2 separate regions of the Homo sapiens genome follow, and region 2 is linked to region 1. The links are contacts of gene promoters, found by promoter capture Hi-C in human tissues and cell types (Jung and others, 2019). All regions are on one chromosome and are shown on one strand. The core of a region is centred on a gene start or on the middle of the fragment in contact, and the rest is flanking DNA. Distances in the headings are between cores, read along the strand shown. Region 1 holds the start of STXBP6 (syntaxin binding protein 6). Region 2 has its middle 81 kb from the start of LINC02286.

The links. The method cuts DNA at HindIII sites, captures the fragments that hold promoters and counts their contacts. A contact is called where the count stands out against the background at its distance.
Region 2: a contact is called between a fragment that was not itself captured here and the fragment with the promoter of STXBP6 in region 1, in 5 of the 25 tissues and cell types used here (bladder, heart right ventricle, hippocampus and 2 more).

What each region holds. Positions count from the first base shown.
Region 1 is chr14:25,048,179-25,052,753 of GRCh38, forward strand. It overlaps STXBP6 (syntaxin binding protein 6), which reads right to left and starts at 1,969. Exons shown (of 6, transcript NM_001394410.1): 1 at 1,700-1,969. It overlaps LOC124903295 (a long non-coding RNA gene), which reads left to right and starts at 2,166. Exons shown (of 2, transcript XR_007064091.1): 1 at 2,166-2,256; 2 at 4,048-4,412. The HindIII fragment of the contact is 10,437 bases long and covers 1-4,575 here.
Region 2 is chr14:25,235,052-25,239,626 of GRCh38, forward strand. No RefSeq gene overlaps it. Among named protein-coding and RNA genes, the nearest start is that of LINC02286, 81 kb to the left of the region's middle. The HindIII fragment of the contact is 5,841 bases long and covers 1-4,575 here.

The DNA.
Region 1 (4,575 bases), core at 719-3,218:
AGCTCATTCAAAACAACTGAGTAAAGAGCACAGAGACAATATCTAAGACCTGAATGGTGCTTTTAAAGTTTTCTTAGCTCTTTTCATTTTCATTATCTCATCTGAGTTTACAACAACCCTGCAATGGAGGGAGGTAAGGCCACGATTATCTCCGTTTGACAGAAGAGAAAACTTAAGTTCAGAGTGACTAATCATTTGTCCATCAGCACTGTCATCAGCTGTAAAGCTGAAACTTGACCTCAAGTCTGTCTGACTCTAGAACTGTGTAGTGTATCCACATTATGTGATTCGCACATCTAGAAATCGGCCCCAAAGCAGACTACCCTCAAGGAAAAAGCAAAGAGAAAAACAGGCAGCAGAATGGTGAGCCCCTAAATCCTGGCACTTGAGCAGTGTGAGGGTGTCCCTTTAAGAACGTAACACACAAACCCAACAGCCAAGGTGTTCAGCCAAAAAAGAAAAAAAGAGAGGCATATTTCTAGCCTGCATAATCATTTCTGGACCGATTCCCACTAGCAGCCTCTGAGACGAACAGCAGCTCACAGCCTCGGCTGAAGCTCCTCCACCCCCAGGGTGGCTCTGACTAGGGCGCAGCTCTGACTAGTGTGCAGGCAAAACCCCAAAACTCAAAACAAGAAGTGAAAAAAGTGGAGCCAGGAAAAATTCGTCGGCATCCTCCACAGCCTTACAATCCGCACAATGCCAGTTCCAGGGTCCTGGGGTCGCCCGGAAGGCAATCTTAGGAGAGGGTGGAATGAGATGGAAGTTCCTGCGGACCTACCGATCCTATTCTCTCCCACCCAGTCCCTAGGGAAGCGTAATAGGAAGGGGAGAAGGTTCGTTATGAAATCCTGGGGCCAGAACCAAGGGCAGATACACCCCGGGGACTTTCTCCTAAAGAACAAGATGTCTTTCCAAATTCTCCACCTGCAGGTCCTGTCCTCTGTGAAGATGAACGGGGTGGGGTGGTGAGGTGGCGGGGTGTTGTAAACCTGAGGAAAGGTTGGAGGGAAAATCAAGCCACCCACCTACTCCAGCCACGTTGCCCGGCGGTGTTGGTGAGGCTCGATGCCGGCGTGCACGGCAAGCGCGAATTCGGAACCTGGCGCCCTTGACCAAGCCTGAGATCGGAAAGGGGGCATCGCCCAGGGCCAGCGCCCTGGGGGCAGGGTGCCGTGCCCGCCAGAAAAGCTCGCCTCAGTTTTGGCAGTAATGATTTTCCTAGAAGATGCCAGAGTTCGCGAAGATCGGAGTGATTCGCGGATTTCTGCGCTCAAGCTAGAGGCGCAGCGACCCCGAGCTCCCCCACACTGGGAGCCTCGGGGCAGCATTCTCGGGGCCCATGCCATCGCGGGGACGGTGCGGAAAAAAAGGCTCCATCCTCAACTTTCTCGGAGGAAATCGCTCCGTTCTGCGGCTTGCCCAATACTGCCCGCACAACGGGTCCCAGGGTTGGAGAGAACCAGGGACACGAGTCCCTCTCTGCGCGCACAAAGCAGCTGCGCCGGGGCGCGCGGCCCCCTCTCCCGCCACCCGCCAACTTGGAAGAATCTCTCTGGGAGCCTGCCTACTCCCCTGGCCTCACAGCCACCCGCCTCGGACGGAGCGCCAGGCGCCCCAACAGCCGTGGCGGCTGCAACCGCATCTCCCGGGCTTGGCCTCCGCCCTGACCGCCTGGCTCCCCTCGCCCCGGTCCTACCGTGCAGCCTGGCTCGCGCCCCTGCCGTGCCAGTGCGCGGCACGCGTCCCAGAGCACGAGGCTCCTCCCCGGGGGGCTGCCCCGCGCGGGGCTCCGGGCTCCGGACAAGGCTTAGCCGGCCCGGGTGCTGGCTCGCCGCCGCTCGCGGCTCCCGCGCCGGCTCCTGCTGCCGCGCGCGAAAAGGGAGGGGTTGGGGGGAAACTCCCGGCAACTCCAACTCCGGGCGCTGGAGCTCCAGCTGCAGCCGCGCGCCCGCCCGCCGCCGAGTGCGAGCGCCTGCGAAGCAAACCTGCCCGCGCGGCCGCCTCTGAGCATGCTCAGTGCCGCCGTGGGCGAGCCCGAGCGCCCTGGCCCGGGGCAAAGAGCAGCGGCTAGGGGCTGGGGGCTGGGGGCCGGGACCCGCGACCCGCCCCAGGCCTCGGAGCGCGGAGGTGGCAGAGGAAGGGAAAGGCCAATGTAGGGGCGGGGGCCCTGAGCCAAAGACCCGGGAGAAACCGATCTGGGTGCAAGAGCCGGTGCGACTTTCACGGCTTGTGGGAAGTTTGTGGGCTAGAAAGGTGGGCTGCTTCTGTGAGCTTCTCTGTGAGACTATATTCGAAAGGACAACCAGGAAACATTTTTTTTTTTCTCTAGGAAAAAACGAATAGACCCAGCCGATGGGTTTTTATCCTGTGCGCTCCTTCCTTTATTCTTACGATAGCAAACTCAAAGATCTAATGGGGCCTGACAGGCACTGTAACTGGGGGAAGGCGAACTGGAGAGAGCTCCGAAGGCAGGGCCGCTTATCTGCTCTCAGGGTCCCTTGCTATCGGGCAAGAATTAGACCTAGTGTTGCTAGATTTTCTGATTTTTCCAGAAATGACGGAGTATATTCATGTACAATATCCTGATTTGTAAAATCTTGATAACAAATTCAATTTTCTCAAAACACCCTGGACTAAACAAAACATATCTGCGTCCCCTCCCTGCTGAACCCCCCAGACAGTGATTTGAGCATTGTGATTCTGCACTCTTTTAGCGAAGTGGTGCTGAGTGCTCACTGTGGTTTGGGAAAGTGCTGGAAAGGATCCAAGATGATTCAGAATATCTTCGAAGTACTACTAGTTACTAGGGGAAATGGGTTTTCCTGACAGTAGAGCGCTACACTTAAATGCTGGAGCGTTCAAGAAGAAAGACGTTACTAATGTAGAAAGCGGTTGTAAGAACTAACTTTTGGGAAACATCATTAGTAAAAGTATCTGTGTGGGGAGTCACTGCAGGGCCGATAACAGTGCCCCGGAAGGCACTTTTGAGCCTGAAGCAATAGGAAAAACCCCTAAACTTACCCTGTCTTTATTTAAAATTTTGTTATTTTTCATCATGCATTTTTGATATTAATTTTGATTTTTTTAAATATTCCATTAAAATATTAACCTTGATTACTGAATTCTTTGGTGAACCTTTAAGTGCTGTGACTCACCTCACCCTAGCCTGGCCCTGTTGGGGTGTTAGATGGTGGTACACAGACCTGCTTGTTTGGAGTGCAAGGGGTAAGCATTAGCATAGTGAAATAGGAAAGAGGGTTTGAGCTGTGGATGGGGGCTCAGGCAGAAGTCCTGACTGTCAGTCTGTGGCTCCTGCACTTAGTTTGTAGACTACGTGGAGATAGCAGAGATGCTGGGGGAGGAGACAATCCGAACTGAATTCTGTGAAGATGGACAGGGCAGCAGACCCAGGAAGATGGTTTGGAGGGGAAGAATGGGAGAAACGGGGATACCTAGGATATCATAAAACTGATACCCTAGGTATCCCCATTTGGTAGCTACAGTTTTATGAAAATCAGAGAAAATTGCCTGAAAAAGTAAGTTTCTTTTGCTCTGCCTATCTCTGTAGAGACATGTCATGGGGCTACCTTAGTGCCAATGAGTAGTGTGCCGGGGTCCTGGTCTTAACCTCAGCCATTTCCCTACCAGGCTTCCATGGGCAAGTGGCTCAACCTCTAAGCTTCACTTTCCTCATCTGTGGAAGGGAAAACAATTCTCATGGCGTTTTTGTGAGAATCCAAAGAAATGTATGTCTAAGGGCTTTGAAAATGTTGAGAGTTCTTACCTACAAGTCATCTATGTAAAATTTGAATTGAAATAAGGGCCTTTTTGCTTGACAAAAGCTCTAAGTAGCAAGCTTCTTTAATTTAGCAAGCCTTTCTAATGTGTTGGGATGATATTTACAAAACTTTGGAATCAGCTTTTGGGTAACTCAATAATTTTGTGAAGTAAGATACTACTGTACTAGCTTCTATTGCCAGTCATCTCCCTCTACTACCTTCCTTTTTTATCTTCACTTGCCTCTTTTTGTTCTCAATATTGCAGATCTAGTCAAGAGGACTCTCTCCCTCTGTACAAAGTGTTCTCTAACTCATGTACCGGTCATCACGGTAGTGTCTGCCTCAAACACCTGGGACCTACCTTAGTGTGGGAGGTGATTCTCCCTGCAGGTAACCTAATTTGTTGCTGCATTCATGGAGAACAAACCACTGCTTATCTATGGGAAGCATTTTAAGCATGCAGACCTCTCAAAGAAAACAAAAACAAAAACAAAAACAAAAAAGACCGTGGATGTTTAAACAAGAAGCCTTCCAGAAGTCATGTAAAGGAGGAAGTACCTAGCCCAGGATCTGTCACATAACAAGTAGTTACAAATATTTGCAGAATAAATAGCAATTTCCATCGTCAAAGTCTTCTGCATCTGTTTCACCTCCCACAGTGCCTAGGATTTTTTTTTTTTTTTAATCACAATAATGGTAAGGTCATAAAGAAGAACAAGAAGAACAGGAACTAAACATTTATGCAGGGAGAGGTTCTGTACTTTAACAAGTGAAATGCTTTGCTTACATTTTA
Region 2 (4,575 bases), core at 1,019-3,518, 190 kb after region 1:
AGCTACTCGGGAGGCTGAGGCAGGAGAATGGCGTGAACTCTGCGGGGCGGAGCCTGCAGTGAGCCGAGATCGCGCCACTGCACTCCAGCCTGGGCGACAGCGACACTCCGTCTCAAAAAAAAAAAAGAAAAGAAGACATACAAGTGGCCAATAAACTTATGAAAAAATGCTCATCCTCACTAATCATCAGAGAAATGCAAATCAAAACCACAATGAGATACCATCTCCTATCAGTCAGAATGGCTATCATTAAAAAGTCTAAAAACAACAGATGCTGGTGAGGCTGTGGAGAAAAGGGAATCTTTAAACACTCTTGGTGGGAATGTAACTTAGGTTAGCCACTGTGGAAAGCAGTTTGGAGATTTCTCAAAGAACTGAAAACAGATCTACTGTTTGACCCAGCAATCCCATTAATGGGTACATATCCAAAGGAATATAGATCATTATATCAAAAAGACACATACTTGCAAATTTATTGCCATGCTATTCACAATAGCAAAGAGATGGAATCAATGTAGGTGACGTCAATGGTGGATTGAATAAAGAAAATGTCGTACACACACAACATGAATACTACATAGCTGTGAAAAAGAATTAAATCATGTTCTTTGCAGCAACATGGATGGAGCTGGAGGCCATAATTCTAAGTGAATTAATATAGGAGCAGAAAACCAAATACCACATGTTCTCACTTATAACAGAGAGCTAAACATTCAGCACTCATGGACATAAACATGGGAACAATAGACACTGTGGACTACAGGAAAGTGGAGGAAGAAGTGGGAGATGGGTTGAAAAACTACCTACTTGGTACTTTGCTCACTACCTGAGGTCGATATACCCATGTAACTAACCTGCACATGTACCACCTATATCTAAAATAAAAGTTGAAAAAAAACCACAGCTATGCACAGAGTTGAAAAAAAATTTTGTGTCAAAATTAACTTGTACTAACTTATAACACTGAACAGAATCTAGTTTGAGGTACTAAGAAAGATAAGACATGAGTTTGAAAAGAGCTCCTATCAGAACAGCATGACTTCTTCGAAAATTGAAGAAAGAACAAACACCAGACTTATTGTGAAGCTTGGGTGGAAGAAAGAATGGTAAAATCATTGATCCTTTATGAAAAGTTTATGGGGATAATACCCCAAAGAAATCAGCAGTTTATAAATGGATAACTCATTTTAAAAAGGGATGAGATGATGTTGAAGATGAAGCTCACAATGTCAGACCATCCACATAAAGTTTCCAGGAAAAAATTAATCTTGTTTGTGCCCTAATTGAAGAGGATTGATGATTAACAGCAGAAAAAATAGCCAACACAATAGACATCTCAACTGGTGTGGCTTACACAGTTCTGACTGAAAAAGTTGAGCAAACTTTCCACATGATGGGTAGAGAACTGTTCCACCCAGACCAGCTGCAGACAAGAGCAGAGCTTTCAATGGAACTTTTAAATAAGTGGGATCAATTTCCTACAGCACTGGTTCCAAGAATTGTAACAAGAGATGAAACATGGCTTTACCAGCACAATCCTGAAGCTAAAGCACAACCAGAGCAATGACTATCAAACGTTAGAGGTGGTCCAGTCAAAGCCAGAGCAGATCAATCAAGAGCAAAGGTCATGACAACAGTTTTTTGAGATGCTCAAGGCATTTTGCTTGTTGACCTTCTGGAGGACCAACGAATGATAACTTCTGCATATTATGAGAGTGTTTTGGGAAAGTGATCCCAAGCTTCAGCAGAAAAACCCCCAGGAAAGCTTCACTGGAGTCTTTCTCTACCGCGACAATACTCCTGCTCCTTCCTCTCATCAAACAAAGGAAATTTTGCAAGAATTTTGATGGAAAATCATAAGGTATCCACCTTACAGTTTTTATTTGATGCTTTCTTACTTATTTTGTTTCCTAATCTTAAAAAAAACTTTAAAGGGAACCAATTTTTCTTCAGTTTATAATGTAAAAAGTCTTCATTGCCATGGCTAAATTCTCAGGACCTTCAGTTCTTCAGGGATGGACTAAATGGCTGATATCGCTTATAAAAGTGTCTTAAACTTGATGGAACTTATGTTGAGAAATAAAGCTTATAGTTTTAATTTTTATCTTCTAATTCTATTATTCTATAACCTTTTTGAAGTTCCTTGTATTTGGAGTACTAGAAGTGCTTCATGATGCCTGTAGCATTCGTTGCATGTGTATGTGGATGAGGGCGCATACACACACACACACACGAGCTGAAGGTGAATCCATACATGTATATGTGCATGAGGGTACACACACACACACACACACACACACACACACGAGCTGAAAGTGCATCCATGCATGTATATGTGCATGAGAGTGCACACACACACACACAAGCTGAAAGTGCATCCATGCATGTATATGTGCATGAGGGTGTACACACACTGACACACAAACACAAACACAAGCTGAAAATGCTTGGAGTTGTATGTCCTCCAGGAAGTCATGGGCTTTCATAGCCTTATGTGATGAGGGCTTTGAAAGTCGAGCTCCCTTACCTTCAGCTGAGACAAACTTTATACCCCAGAGCTGCCCTGAGAATCTGGCAAAGCCTGGGACTTGGCTTGTCCTCTTCCCCTTTCCTGTCCTGCTTCCTCATTCTTTTCCTGGTTTCTCTGGGAGCAGTTTCTTAATAAATCACTAGCACAGAAATCTCCCTCTCATGTTTACTTTTGGGGAATCTGATTAAGAGAGCTGGGTATATTGGAGCTTACCCTGAGTCAATGAACAGTAGCACAAGACAGTACATCTGAATGAGTCTGAACTACAATTTCAGGTTTTCTTCTTTGTGGTTTTATTTGGAGTATCACAGAAAATTTGTGAAATGTGCCAGACATAGTTGTGCTCCCAACTCACAGATGGGAAACAAAGGGCCAAATGACTTGCTCCAGCTTGTGGAGCAATCACGGCCCGGGATGCCTGTTCTTCAATGTTTCATCTTGTGCTCGCTCCGCTTCACTGTTCAGCTTCTTCAAGTTAGAGCTTTTGTTCTCTCCCAGCGCCCCCATGAGGCACTGAAAGAAAACTAGGTCCCTTTTAGCTTCTCGACCCTGTACTGTCCAAAATAACAGCCCCTAACCCCATGTGGTTATTTAAATGTAAATAAAGTTAAAAACTCAGTTCCTCAGTCAGACTAGCCACATTTCAAGTGATGAATACTCACAACCTTGCAGAAAGTTCTTTGGATAGTGCTGTCTTAGACCCTTTACTCTTCAGAAGTTTCAAGTATTTTTCTCTTTGCGTGTATCTGCTAACTTGATATGTTTTTCTTTTTTTAAAACAATCTTGGGACCAACATCAGGGTGATTGCTACCTTGAATTCACCATTACAGGCATCTGAATCTGCATAAACACATGCTAGATGGGCTTTGGGTAAAAGAGAAGGGGAGTGGCCACAAATACACATGTAATTAGGAAAGAAAATTTCATAAGGACTCCATTTTTCTCTCCCTGAAATACTAGTGAAATAATTCCTGCTTTTGCCTACCACACAGATGTAGAATTGAGGTGAAATTATAGAAATAAATTAGAGCACCGAGAATGAATTAGAACAATTCTAAAACTTATCTTTGAGCTTATTTATGTAGGCATAATGTAAGTATATGGGATCATTAGATTTTAATTAAATGTTATATGTTAATTAACAGAAGACTGCTATTTTCTACAAAATGAAGAATACATTTTTTAAACAGTAATAAAAAGATTTAGAAAAAAATGACAAACTTATGATTTTAATCTTTGAATATGTATTATCAACGAAGACAGTCAATTTTTTTGTGCTCTGGAGTAGAGTGAAAAAAACAACAGCATCAAACAATGGTAAAGAAGTGAAATGATAGGGATCATAAAATTCGGCAGGATGGTGACGCTTGCTGTGAGAATTTGAAGGCTGCCATATACCACCGGAGGCTGAGGAGGCTTTGTGAGGTGATGGGAAGAATTAGAGAAGCTGCAAGTGGTAGGCATTTTTGGAAATGGAATTAAATTTAGAAACCAGTGTTTTTACAATTTAAGGCTAGAATGAAAATAAATTGTTTATGCAAAATTTAAATAGAAGTTCTTTCTTTCCTCTTTATAAGTACTTTTAAAGCAAGAGACACTCGAATTGATAGCAATAGAACAGAAAGAAAACATTACATATTTTGGAAAAAAATTAAAGATTTGTTTTCAGAAAGCCCACATTACCTGCCAAAATTTCCAATATGTAATTTCAACTATAGAGATAGAGATTTATCTTTTGGGCAAATTACTTTTTTCTAAGGCTTGGCAAATATTGCACAATAAGTCACAAAATGCTAAGATGAATGAAGGTAATTGAAATCACATTTCTCAGTATAATCACATACTCAGTTGAGTATAATGCTGGATAATGAGGACACACACACAAAATATGTATATGATGAAAAAAATCTTCATGTTTGTTAACATTTTAGTTTCAATGAGATGGACTCACTTGTTTATTTACTTTTAAATTTGATTTAATGAGGTTTTAAAAAGGATTGATTTAATGAGATTACTCAACTATTCCATCTAAGTAAATTTGAGA